Linked DNA regions of Homo sapiens: region 2 is linked to region 1. The links are contacts of gene promoters, found by promoter capture Hi-C in blood cells and fetal thymus (Javierre and others, 2016). All regions are on one chromosome and are shown on one strand. Each heading gives the region's core, a stretch centred on a gene start or on the middle of the fragment in contact. The rest is flanking DNA. Distances are from core to core; before and after follow the strand shown. Region 1 holds the start of AP3M1 (adaptor related protein complex 3 subunit mu 1). Region 2 overlaps SAMD8 (sterile alpha motif domain containing 8).

Region 1 (6,267 bases), core at 1,581-4,080:
AGAAAAAAAAAATAGTTTTGGTGGTAGTTCAGTGGAATGCTAGAAATAAGACATTGCAGTGGGCTGGGAAATAAATAGCAAGAAGTGTAAAAAAATAGAGATATGTAGAGTAGATTCAAGAAGTCTAGCTGTGAAGAGGATGAAAAGACAGGAAAATAAATGCAGCAGTTCATAAAGTGAAGGAAGAATACATTCAAATGCTGAAGGAAAGGTGTGAATAGAGGGGGAAAAGCTGACATAGGAGAGAGGGAAAAACGGAAAGAGGACCCTGACATAGCAGGAGAGGATGCTACTGAGAGACTAGGTCAAAGGGTTTGCCTTCTCTAAGGAGAAGGAACACTTTCTACTCTTCAGATTGAAGGGAAGGTTTGTATACTTGACTGCAGGCAGATGATGGCTCTCCTTCTCTGTGTAATGGGAGAGAGGTCATTTCCAAAGGGAGAGAGAAGTCCTCTTCTCTGTAAATACCATGTGCTACTCATGAATTGACACAGTACTGAGCTACTTAAAAATATTTAAATCTGCAAAGAACTCCCATAGCGTATGTGTATATGTATTTTTTTTTAAGAGATAGGGTCTTGTTTTGTTGCCCAGGCTGAAGTGCAGTGGACCAATCATAGCTCACTGTAACTTTGAACTCCTGGGCTCAAGTGATCCTTCTGCCTCATTCTGCCTCTACCTCCTGAGTAGCTAGGACTACAACCACATGCCACAAAGCCTGGCTAATGTTTAAATTTTTTGTAGAGATGGAGTCTCGCTATGTTGCCCAGGCTGATTTCCAGCTCCTGGCCTCAAGTGATTTTCCCGCCTCACCCACCCAAAGTGCTAGGATTACAGGCGTGAGCCACCGCACTCCATCTGCCCATAGTATATTGGTTTGTTTTTTTTTTTTTTGAGACGGAGTCTTACTCTATTGCCAGGCTGGAGTGCAGTGGCGCAATCTCAGCTTACCACAACCTCCGCTTCCTGGGTTCAAGCGATTCTCCTGCCTCAACCTCCCGAGTAGCTGGGACTACAGGCACGTGCCACCACGCCCAGATAATTTTTATATTTTTAGTAGTGACGGGGTTTCTCCATATTTGCCAGGATGGTCTCGATCTCTTGACCTCGTGATCCACCCACCTCAGCCTCTCAAAGTGCTGGGATTACAGGCATGAGCCCTACCGTGCCTGGCCGTATATTATATTAAATGGTTAGAAATAAAAATCATAAGATTAAGTAAGAAAATATAATCTTGTTGCAAAGAGAGCTTTCCTAAAGATACGTAAGGTTTTTTTTTTTTTTTTTTTTTTTTTTTTTTTTTTTTTTTCGAGGCAGAGTCTCGCTCTGTCGCTCAGGGTGGAGTGCAGTGGTGAGGTCTCAGCTTACTGCAACTTCCGCCTCCCGGGTTCAAGGGATTCTCCTGCCTCAGCCTACCAAGTAGCTGGGACTACAGGCGTGTGCCACCACACCTGGCTAATTTTTGTATTTTTAGTAGAGACAGGGTTTCACTATGTTGGCCAGGTTGGTCTCGAACTCCTGACTTTGTGATCCGCCCGCTTCAGCCTGCCAAAGTGCTGAGATTACAGGCGTGAGCCACCGCGCCTGGCCAAGATTCGTAAATTAAGATAATTCTTCATTAACCTCATTCACTTCACTTCTCCTATAGTGTCAATTGAAAGTGTCCCTCTGTCTTTCCCAAATTAATCCTTTCACTTGTAACTTGATCCCATTCCTTTCCTTCTCTTCTGGGAGACAAGACTTTTTCTTGAATCTTCAAATAGTTGCTTGCTTCCTGCCCCCAAATAGATATCTTGTATTCTTTAAAACAAACCCCAAACTTTCCCCCACCTTGCCACTCTCAATAATCTTGCTTCATGCCCCAAATGATGAAGGATTGGTCTACACTTGCAGTCTTTCCTCAGTTACTATTAAAGCATCTCTCTCAAACAGCTCAATGACTTTCTAATTATAAAATCCAACGACCTATTCTGATTTCAGCTTCCTCCTCTGACCATTGCAGCATTTTATGTCATTGATAACTTTCTCCTAAACAAAAATACTTCTTACCCTTTTATATGAAACTTCATCTGTTTTGGGTCTCACCTTGAAAGTCTTTCGGGCTTAATTCTCATAATTTTTTTTAAAGTCTTTCTACAATCTCCATGTAAACCACTGTTTCAAATTCGATAAAACTCAAACTCCATAAAATACCTCCTCCTGTCACTGGCACCATCTTCTTAATCACACATAAGGCTGTAAGTTTCAGGTTCAAACAAATCTACCAAATACAAACAGCCACATCGCCCGTCACTCTTCCACACTCACTGCCACCTGCTCAGCTTAGAACCCCGTTACCTCTCTCCTGAAGAACTGCAACACCCTTCTCACTGCATTCCTCACCCCAGGCTCTTCCAGGCACCACCCGCTAACAGGACGTCTGCTCAGGTCCGTTTGGGGTTTTGTCCTCCAAAGCAGAAACCTGGGACTGAGATTCCTGCCGTCTGTACTCCAGCTCACTATAGAGGGGGAACCCAGTAAGCTTGACCTCCGGGGCTCAGGCGCCTGAGAACACTGGGCTGCAGGTGGACCGCTCCCTTCTGGCCTTGCTGGCGAGAAAGCCCGGAAGGCCGGGAGTGGGGGGGAAGCGAGGCCCGGGCCAACAGCACCAAAGACGCTCCTAGAGCCCAGATCGGAGTCGGGGGCCCCAGCTATTCAGCCTACTCCCGGGTTTTGGAGCTGTCCCCAGTCCACAGATTTCCCGCCCCTCACACTCACCCCAACACCTGTGCCAGTCAGTGATTCGGCGCCGGATCCTCTCCTACCGAAGCTGGAGAAGCCGAGAAGGCCGCGAGGACCCGCAGCTGGAGTGCCCAGGAAATTGCCTGATTAACAGCTTCAAAGACACCGACTCTGTCTACCGTATTAGAAATTTTAAATATGCAGGAAGACCGTAAATGAGAGGAAAGACGTCTCTTGAGGCTTAGTATCTAAATCTTCTACATAATCCAGGGCCTAGAAAAATGGTGGGTTTCTCTCCATCTAGATTCAGGCGGTCATCTGCTGCCTAACGCAGTCTGGGGTCCCTCATGGTAGGGGAGGCGGGGTCAGGAATGGGCGGGGCATTCGCTGTTGGTGCCGACGGATAGAGCCAATGATTGTGGATGACAGCGGCACAGAATGGGCGGAGTCTGGAGGGGCGGGATTTGGAGAAGAGAAAGCGGTGATGCGAAGAGGGGGCGGGACCAGAGAGTGGATGGCAGAGGTGGGCTGTAGAGCCAAAGTGGGGTGGGAGCGCGAAGATGGCAGCTGCTGAGGAGGAGCCGAAGCCCAAAAAGCTGAAGGTGGAGGCGCCGCAAGCGCTGAGGTGAGCGCTGCCGGACTTGGGGAGGAGGGTGACGGCGCTGCAAGCAAGCCAGGGCCCACGTGGGGTTGCACGGCCCCGACGCTGGGTGGTGTCTCTCACTGCCAGCTTGGGGCCAACACGCAGGACCTCCCCCAGCTGCCCGCTTGGCCGCGACCCCTTGCCAGACGTTCTCTCCGTTTGGCTGAGTCCCCGCCTGTCTGGTGCAGCTCCGGCTCCAGCAGCCCTTCGCCAGTCGTGGCCCGCAGGGGGACCGAGCTGGCTGACCGCGCCACCTGCGAGCAAGCCCAGGCTGGGCTGGTGCGACCCCGGAGGGTCGGACCGGAGCAGCGTCTGTAGGCGGCCGCCTTCTCTTCCCGGGGGATGGCGGGAAAGAGGCTCGGCAACTGCTGTACACTGGGGCAAAGTCAGAATTCTTGGGGATTTTTCAGAGTGTTGCGGAAGGGCACGTTGACCTTCCTTTTCGTGCACATTCTGAAAGCCCGTACCTTTGAGGACCCTCTACCAGGGACCCAGACCCCTCCGATGCTTTGCAGGGGCAGCATTTGGATGAATGGATAGGAAAGGTTGATTTCTCTTTTTTATTTACACTTTTTGGCAGCAACGGGGACAGTGCTGCCCCTAACACCTGCCTCACATGTGATTGATGTTGCAACTTTTACTTATGAAGAGTCATTTGTTAAAATATCCCTTCCTAATAAGTATAAAGTGAAGCAGGCAGTCTTTGATGATTTGGAAATGTTCGCTGAAAGGCAGCGATTTTTTTTTCCATCTTAAAATAGACATATCAAACTGATTTAAAACTATTAGGACACTCCTGATTAAACAGGACATATCCCATTTCTTCCAGTATCACTCTTCTTCACCTCCAAAGGAAGGAATCACTCACAATTGAAAAGAAAAGGACACTTAGGGGCCTGGTGGTGTGTTCATGCTGCTTTGAATGGAGGGTGAACAAATCCTTGCCAGTTCCTTTAATGTATTCCTACTACCCTCAAAGGGTTAGTGTGCCTACCTTATACCAAGAACATAAACTTTAAAATAAAAACCCTCAGGATATTCTATTTTTATTTTAAATATTCCAACTATATGCAGAATAAAAAGCAACGGCTTTTGAATCAGACCTACCTGAGTTCAAGGCATGTGCTTTCCCTACTCTGCCCTTTATTAGAGTATTTCCTTATAAGGCACCTCCTTCGCCAAACTGGAAGACAGATGCAACTTTTCCCTACCATCCTACTGAACATATAACCCTTAGATTTCCTTAGATTTTTCCTTAATAAAAATTATTATATATAATGCTGATCCATTTTCACTGTGTTTTCCTATTTATTATCTTGTTGGACAGTTCTGTGATCAAAGGAAGGCAAGAATTATGCCTATTTTACAATTGAAGATATTGAAGCCCAAATAAAACAATTAGTACAGGAACAGAAATAGGAACTAGCTGAGCATGTTTTCTTATACCTGCAGTCCTGGTGCTTTGTGAGGCTGTGGTGAGAGCATTCCTTAGGCAACTAAAATTCACTTTATACAATATGAATTTAGTGCCACCTGTAGACATGAAGTTAAAAGATTAGACACTTGAGTACTGGGACAAATCTCTAATTTTGTGGGGAGACATTTTAGGATCGGCTATTATTACTTTTATTATATTAATTTGCTTTCAGACTCAAAGTGTGATAATGCATTGAGTATTTACACTGAATTTATGATGACTTGCTTGACAGGGGATTGCTACTGGTTTTGGTTAAGGAGAATGGATTATAAAGACTTTGCATAATTTAATGTGCAGCATCAGTGGGAACAAATAATGAGATATATTTGTAGATGTCAGGAAAAATATTTAGATTTAGGGATTTGTGAGAATTTGGTCAGCTCTGGGATAATAATTCTCCACCAGGGGAAATTTTGCCCTCCAGGGGACATTTGGCGTGGTCTAGAAAGATATTTTTGGTAGGGAGAGCTATTGGCACCTAGTGGATGGAATTCAGGGGTGCTGCTAAACATGCTACATAGGACAACCCCCACAACAAAGAATTATCTGGCCAAATACGTCAACGGTGTTGAGGTTGAGAAATCTGTTCTAGAGGGAGCATCTGACAAGACTAGTCTGCCTTTCTCAAATATCTATTATTTTTCTAGGCTCGGTTGCTTTTCAGCATATAACAGTTGCTTATAAAGAAAGAATCAGGCTCTGACATGTTTTCACGTGGGATTAGGGGAAAGAAGGGAACGTTAATTGAGTGCTAGACATTATACTATGTGCTCTATATATGTTATCTCTTTTAACCCTCCCAGTGACCTATGAGGTAGGAGCAATGATTCCTGTGTTACAGACGAGCTATTTTGTGATGAAAGAAGTGGAGAAACATTTTTGGGAACTGCTCCCTAGATGAAGGTGTTCCATGATGATCACTTATATTTAAGACAACTTAGTTTTCTTTTCTCTCCTTTGGAAATCTCATCCAAGTTCATTTCTTTAGCGATCGCCTCTTAAGAGGCTACAGTGCCTTCCAAGGCTTGTTGAGCACGTGCCAAGTCTTTTCCTTCAGTTTGTCTTTCAAGTACATGCTATTTTAGACATGGTGTTAAAAACTGGATATATATAGAGAGAGAAAGAGGTAAGGCACAGGTACCATCCTCTTGGTGGGAAATAAGTGGGGTTTGGGAAAATGACACCTGAGTATTCTTAAAGATGACTAGGAGTTAACCAGTCATCTGTGACTGTAGGGTATCTGTGAAGTAGGGTATCTGCCTTATAGGAAAGTTTGTTTGGTGGCAGAACTGGGAGAGAGCTGCCTCTTGGGGAAGTGCAGATAGTCTGACTGAAGCAGAGATGTATGGGGTCCAGGCTTTGTATTAGACACTCTCACATGTGTCCTTTCTATCTCTGTGCCTCTCAGTTCTCAGATCTTAATTTA
Region 2 (7,089 bases), core at 1,030-3,529, 1.0 Mb after region 1:
TGTTGTTGTTGTTGTTTTTTTGAGACGGAGTCTCGCTCTGTCGCCCAGGCTAGAGTGTAGTCAGGCTAGAGTGCAGTGGCGCGATCTCTGTTCACTGCAAGCTCCACCTACCGGGTTCACGCCATTCTTCTGCCTCAGCCTCCCGAGTAGCTGGGACTGCAGGTGCCCGCCACCAAGCCCGGCTAATTTTTTGTATATTTAGTAGAGATGGGGTTTCACCGTGTTAGCCAGGATGGTCTCAATCTCCTGACCTTGTGATCCACCCACCTCGGCCTCCCAAAGTGCTGGGATTACAGGCGTGAGCCACCGTGCCTGGCCTCTTTTTTTTTTTTTTTTTTTTTGAGATGGAGTTTTGCTCTTGTTGCCCAGGCTGGAGTGCAATGGCACGATTTCTACTCACCACAACCTACCCCTCCCGGGATCAAGAGATTTTCCTGCCTCAGTCTCCTGAGTAGCTGGGATTACAGGCATGTGCCACCATGCCCAGCTAATTTTTGTACTTTTAGTAGAGATGGGTTTTCCATGTTGGTCAGGCTGATCTCGAACTCCTGACCTCAGATGATCCACCCACCTCGGCCTCTCAAAGTGCTGGGATTATAGGCGTGAGCCACCGCACCCTGCAGTATGCTTTTTTTTTTTAAGTGACTGTCCCTCTTTTGTAAAGCAGTTGTCACTCAAGGTCTTCCTCAAAATGGACTGCTTTTTTAGGCGTATGTGTGGGAGTTGGGATTAGGTTTGGCTATTGATAACTGGAAATTCAAAGTGGCTATGGTTTAATAAACACACAATGGTTTATTCTCTCTCAAAAAAGAGTCTGAAGGTAGGTACACAAGGTCTGGTATGATAATTTTACGAAGTCATCCAAAAAAACCCCATAATTCTTCTGTCTTTCTGGTCTGCTATCCCAATACTTGGCTTGTATCCTCAAGGCCACTTTGTGGTCCAAGATGGTTGCTGGAGTTTCACCTCCAGTTGAATGAGTCTGAGTTGTAGACTAAAAAAAGGAAAGGTAAAAAGTTAGAAAAGACTTCCTCAAAACTGTTGTCTCTTACCTTGATAAGTAGCCTTCCCAGAAACCCTTAACACTTCTACTTAGATCTTATTGTACAGAACTTAGTCACGTGGCCACACCTAGCTACAAGGGAGGCTGGGAAAGGCAATATTTTGGCTGAATTCATTGCTGCCTCAATATATTTGAGATTGTGTTACCAGTGAAGAAGGGGAGAGTGGATGTTGAAAGGTAGACATTGATCTCCGTCTGTCATAGCCTATGTCTTATTGGCAAGAATAGCCAAGCAACTACTACTGTGATATTGGATTAAAAACTTGGAGATGTTTTTGTATTATAGAGAACTTTTTATTATAAAGGAACTCCTAGTAAAGGAGTTCATGTTACAGTGATTTCATTTATTTATTTATTTATTTATTTATTTTTAATTAATTAATCAATTTTTTTGAGACAGAGTCTTACTGTGTCGCCCAGGCTGGAGTACAGTGGCGCGATCTCGGCTCCCTGCAACCTCCGCCTCCCAGGTTCAAGTGATTCTCCTGCCTTAGCCTCCCTAGTAGCTGGGATTATAGGTGTGCACCACCATGCCTGGCTAATTTTTGTATTTTTAGTAGAGTTGGGGTTTCGCCATGTTGGCCAGGCTGATGTTGAACTCCTGACATCAGGTGATCCACCCACCTCAGCCTCCCAAAGTGCTGGGATTACAGGCATGAGCCACTGTGCCCAGTCTGATTTCATTTAATTACCAAAATATTTCTGAGTACAGCCAAGCTTTGCCCACCCATTCTTGAAGTCTGGCTGGAATTCATTAGACTGAAGGCCTAGATGCTTTGGCTTAGATCTTATTTCTAAGTTATTCAGCATTTGAATTTCAATAGGAATGGATGTTGGGAAGTTCCCACCTCCCTAAGCATTTGAAGCACTAATTCATAACTTTTCTTCATAGATATATGGCAGTGTATGGGAGAAATTACATCGAGCCTTTGCCATTTGGAGTGGCTTTGGTATGACCCTGACTGGCGTTCACACATGTGGAGATTACATGTTTAGTGGCCACACAGTCGTCCTAACTATGCTGAATTTCTTTGTCACCGAATGTAAGTATCTTTTTAGTGCTTCTATGCGTATTAGGTAACTAGCTGCAGTGAAGGCTGTGGGAAGGGTGTCAGATCCTGTGAAGAATGGCAAAACAGCCTGACCTGAGAAACGTGACTGAGAAGCATTGGAAGGAATGTAGCTTTAAAATGATCTTTCTGTCCTTTTCCTAGATACACCAAGAAGCTGGAATTTCTTGCACACTTTATCCTGGGTTCTCAACCTCTTTGGAATCTTCTTCATCTTGGCTGCCCATGAACATTATTCTATTGATGTGTTTATTGCTTTTTATATAACAACAAGACTCTTTTTGTACTACCATACTCTGGCCAATACCAGAGCATATCAGCAGAGTAGGAGAGCAAGGATTTGGTTTCCCATGTTCTCTTTTTTTGAATGCAATGTTAATGGCACAGTACCTAATGAATATTGTTGGCCATTTTCAAAACCAGCAATAATGAAAAGACTAATTGGATGAATACTATCTTTCTAATGAATTTGTGATTAAATATATAATAGTTGTTGAAAATGAGTAACTTTGCGTTCTCCCCCTAGGTTGTTCTTAGATGCCTGGCTTATGTGTTGACAAAGTAAAGTTTTCTGTTCTGAGCAAAGTTATGATTATAAAAAGCAAGAAAGAACAATCAAGAGTCCTTATGTAGCTATTTGAACAGAAAGCTTAAGTAGATGTTTTCTGCCCCTTCTCTTTAGGAAGACTTAATGTTGTGATTGAAGTCAGGCTGTACCCTTACCTGTTGAGTATTTGCTTATTGAACTTTAAACAAGTCAACTTGAGCAGTTTGCTGGTTGAGGAATTTTCATTGATTTCCAGTAGGGCTCTAGTCAAGAAATAATATGTTTTGAAGCTCCTTATTACCTTTAGAAGAAGAAACCCTAACAAGTGACAGTACTTGTTCTTTGGACTAATCTTTGTTTCATTTTAAAAAATGCAACCCTGGGACATGATCTGTTTTACTGACAAAGAGTTTTTGCCTTCTGAACCATCTTTAAATATACTGAGCATACCAGGATGCCTGAAATAAGAAGAGAATGAAAGAGGCCATAGATGACGTGACAGAGTACTGGCTAGGATGCCATTGGTCTCCTCATTAATGCAAATGTAGGGCTGGCATATTTCACCAAAGATGCAACAAAAGATGCAGTGCCAGTGTGACCCTCAGTGAGTATTCATGAGGGAAAAATGGCTGCATCCATAAAAATAAATGGGCTTAATGTTAGTGGTATAGGTACCCAGAATAACTTCTTTGTGCTATAGTTGTTAGATGACAGTTCAATTTTATGCTTTTTTAATGGTGTTATTAAATGAGCCAAATAGGAGTGTTTTACCAGATGTTAGATAAAGTTCTTAATGCCGTTAAGTAGGGAGGTATGCATGCAAAGAATTGTTTTCTCCTGAAAAGAAACTTACAGCACGCAAAATATAACTTTTTGGTTTTTGAAATTTATCATTCTTGGCTGTTGGAAGTAAACAGTCTCAGACATACTTGGATATGAAAAAGTTTCGTTGTTTTTTACTTTTAAATATAATGGTGTATATACATTCTTTCTATTTAGTCTTAATTTGGCAGTCAGGAAGTGATATAACTTAGCTGCTATTTACAACACTAGAAATTTAGTACTTTAAGTAATTTCACATCTATGATAACATTTGTTACTTTATTTTTAATGATTTTTTTACAGTAGTTATGACAGTAGGATGGTTATGGAATTGGAATTTAAACTCCCAACTAATGAGCTTAAGCTGCTTGGAATATTAATTATGTAGTTTTTACATTCCATTTTAAAACAAAAACTTAGAAAAGGTGCTGGCATTCTGAGGCCTGCAATTAGGCCACATAGCAGAAGCTTGCTCCTTCCTTATCTGGGTGAAATATTTTATTTTTGCACTTTGAGTCATATTCCCACCCCTGTATAAGCTACATAGGAGCCTGAATGAATTGGGTAGGAAAGGAAATTATGCAAACAAGTCTCAGCTAGTGCTGAATGACCCCAATTTGGGTCTGCTGTGAACATCATTTTTGTATTTCTCACTTGAGAAATGCTGCAAGGCAATTCAACTTTTATGCTTTTAAATCTCACAACTCAGAATCTGATATCTTAAATCACTGATTCTGTTACATGCTAGGAACAAAATGCCAACATCTCATGTAAAGAAGTTGCATAATCATGAAAAATAAAGGATGTTTCCTATGCCAGTTAGAGTGGTTTGACCCTTCAGGTAAAAAGATATGTTACTGTTATTTTTCTACGTGACAGAACAGACTGAATTTAGCTAGGGAGGCAGTGATGTTGGCTTTTGGGAAAGGGTTCAAAAAACTGTATGGCAACATTAATGCTAAAATGTTAAGCCGAGTGCAGTGGTGCAAGGCTATAGTCCCAGGTTCTGAGGAGGCTGAGGCAGGAGGATTGCTTGAGGCCAGGAGTTAGAAACTAGAGTGTGTTATAACGCCTATGAATAACCACTGCATTCCAGCCCGGGCAAGGTAGCAAGACCCATTCTCTTAAAAACATGGCTGGGTGCAATGGCTCACGCCTGTAATCCCAGCACTTTGGGAGGCCAAGGCAGGCGGATGGCTTGAGGTCAGGAGTTCGAGATTAGCCTGGCCAATATGGTGAAACCTCATCTCTACTAAAACTACAAAAATTAGCTGGGCATGGTGGCACGCACTTGTAATCCCAGCTACTTGGGAGACTGAGGAACAAGAAACACTTGAACCCAGGAGGTGGAGTTTGCATTGAGCTGAGATCACTCCACTGCACTCCAGCCTAGGTGACAGAGTGAGACTCCATCTCAAAACGAAACAAAACAAAACAAAACAAATTAGAGTGGGTGCAGTGTCTAATGCCTGTAATCGCAGCACTTTGGGAGGCTAAGGCAGGAGGATCACTTGAGCTCAGGTAAAAGAGACCAGCCTGGGCAACAAAGTGAGACCTCATCCCCACAAAAAGTTGTTTAGAAAATTAGCTGGGCGTGGTGATGCATGCCTGTGGTCCCAGCTACATGGGAGGCTGAGGCAGAAGGATCACTTGAGCCCAAGGAGGTTGAGGCTACAGTGAGCTGTAATCATGCCACTGCACTCCAGCCTTGGGGACAGAGTGAGACCCTGCCTCAATCAATCAATCAATCAATAACAAAAACTTAAATAGCTATTAACCTCAGTCTTCTTTCCTTCATATAAATTCTATTCTAAGACCAAATAGAAAAATAAATGTAACTAACTTTGCAGAGCTATTGACATTGAGAGACCTAACAACAGACTGCAATGGGGATTGTAAAATAACTTTTCAGCCTTGCACTTGCTCATATATGTTTTGAGAAAAATGTAAGTTAGGTATAACTTATTGTTTTAACTATTATAAGGCAGTGTTTACATAAATTAATCATCTCTTTCTTGGAAAACATTGAGACAAATTTATTTTCAGTTTTACTTAAACATGAAACCTGTATTTTAGTTGCTTTTTGTTTTGTCCAGAAATTTCCAGATTTTGTCTTCATTTTTTTTCCTGGTTAAAATCTAAACCATAGTGAAGATAGTATTTATGTTTACATTTTATCTGTGAATGTGGCTAAGCAGAGAAGCTACATGGCTTTGGTCTACATATTTTTTGACCTTGTATTTGGTTCTGTAGTTGCAGACTTGTGAAGGCTTACATCATCATGGAGACTTTAGTAAGGAAGGAACCAAAAGGTTTTTGGTTTGGGGATGCAAACTGGAGGTTATGTTACAAGTCTTCAATGCATTTTCTGTGTTCCTGGCAGCAGTGTTGCCTTTTTTTTTCTTTTCCTTTTTTTTTTTTAAAGACCAGGTAGGGTAGTGTTATTGAAGGGTAATTGAAGAGTGGTAGAGAGTAAGAGGTTTTGAAGGAGGCAGGTTTGCTGTTATCACAAAATAATTTGGGGGAAACCTTTCGTGGCTGTGCTGCAAGAATTCTTTATGTGGCTATCCTCTCCATAGTTTTCTGACCAGAATTGCAAGGGCAAAAATAGAACTTCTAGCTCTATTTATTTGTATCCTTTGAAATCAGAACTTATCCTTAGAACCAGTCAGTTAAATAATGCGGACTATGCCTATAATCCCAGCACTTTAGGAGGCTGAGGCAGGCAGATCACGAGGTCAGGAGTTCGAGGCCAGCCTGGCCAATGTGGTGAAACTCCGTCTCTACTAAAAATACAAAAATTAGCCGGGCGTGGTGGTGCACGCCCATGCCTGTAGTCCCAGCTACTCGGGAGGCTGAGGCAGAAGAATCGCTTGAACCCAGGAGGCGGAGGTTGCAGTGAGCCGAGATACTGCCACTACACTTCAGTCTGGGTGACAGAGCGAGACTCCATCTCAAAAAAACAAAACAAAATAAAATAATAATGTGGGCTATTCAGAAGAAAAAGTCAGTGACAGAGAGACCAGAACCCATTGGATCAAGAGACCTGCAGGGATTATAACTCTTTACTCTGTGAGCAGCGGTGTTTCGTGCCCTGTCTCTGCCTGTGTGTTTTTACTAAGAATTCCAGAAATCCTGTAATTTGTAAATGGGAAACAGAGGAACCAGATTGTTTTATAGCTGATAAGAAACAGTCTGTTTTAGAAACATCTGTTTGGAAAGTATTACTCATGTATTCACAAAGTCATATTTATAACACTAGTCTTCTTTGACTGTATTCAACAAAAGGCAGTTTCACCATTAATTTCATAGTAAGCTTTTTTAAAGGATTCTAGATCTAAATTGCCTAAGAATGTTAACCACATTCTTGTTTTAAACTCTCTAATTTAATAAATGTAATTATTTTATAGTCTTTTATAGACTTACATTTTCTTCATACTAAAGGTAATGATAATATAGTCATTTGCCAGTACTTTAAGGTATTCAGGCATTTGAGACAAGAAAGCTGTCTTGTAGAATAGTCCAATTGCTTTCTTAAACAGTACTGGTTTCATTTAGACAGTTTCTAAGCCAGCAAAGGTGTCAAT

The links. The method cuts DNA at HindIII sites, captures the fragments that hold promoters and counts their contacts. A CHiCAGO score of 5 or more calls a contact.
Region 2: a fragment that was not itself captured here is called in contact with the fragment with the promoter of AP3M1 in region 1 in 3 of 17 cell types (total CD8 T cells, naive CD4 T cells and total CD4 T cells); the score reaches 5.5 in total CD8 T cells.

What each region holds. Positions count from the first base shown.
Region 1 is chr10:74,147,998-74,154,264 of GRCh38, forward strand. It overlaps AP3M1 (adaptor related protein complex 3 subunit mu 1), which reads right to left and starts at 2,831. Exons shown (of 9, transcript NM_012095.6): 1 at 2,758-2,831. It overlaps ADK (adenosine kinase), which reads left to right and starts at 3,224. Exons shown (of 11, transcript NM_006721.4): 1 at 3,224-3,346. The coding sequence starts at 3,282. RefSeq lists enhancers at 2,755-2,984, 3,395-3,574. The HindIII fragment of the contact is 5,595 bases long and covers 2,520-6,267 here.
Region 2 is chr10:75,174,111-75,181,199 of GRCh38, forward strand. SAMD8 (sterile alpha motif domain containing 8) reads left to right here. Exons shown (of 6, transcript NM_001174156.2): 5 at 1,956-2,106; 6 at 2,278-7,089. The coding sequence ends at 2,582. Among named protein-coding and RNA genes, the nearest start is that of VDAC2, 33 kb to the right of the region's middle. The HindIII fragment of the contact is 1,002 bases long and covers 1,779-2,780 here.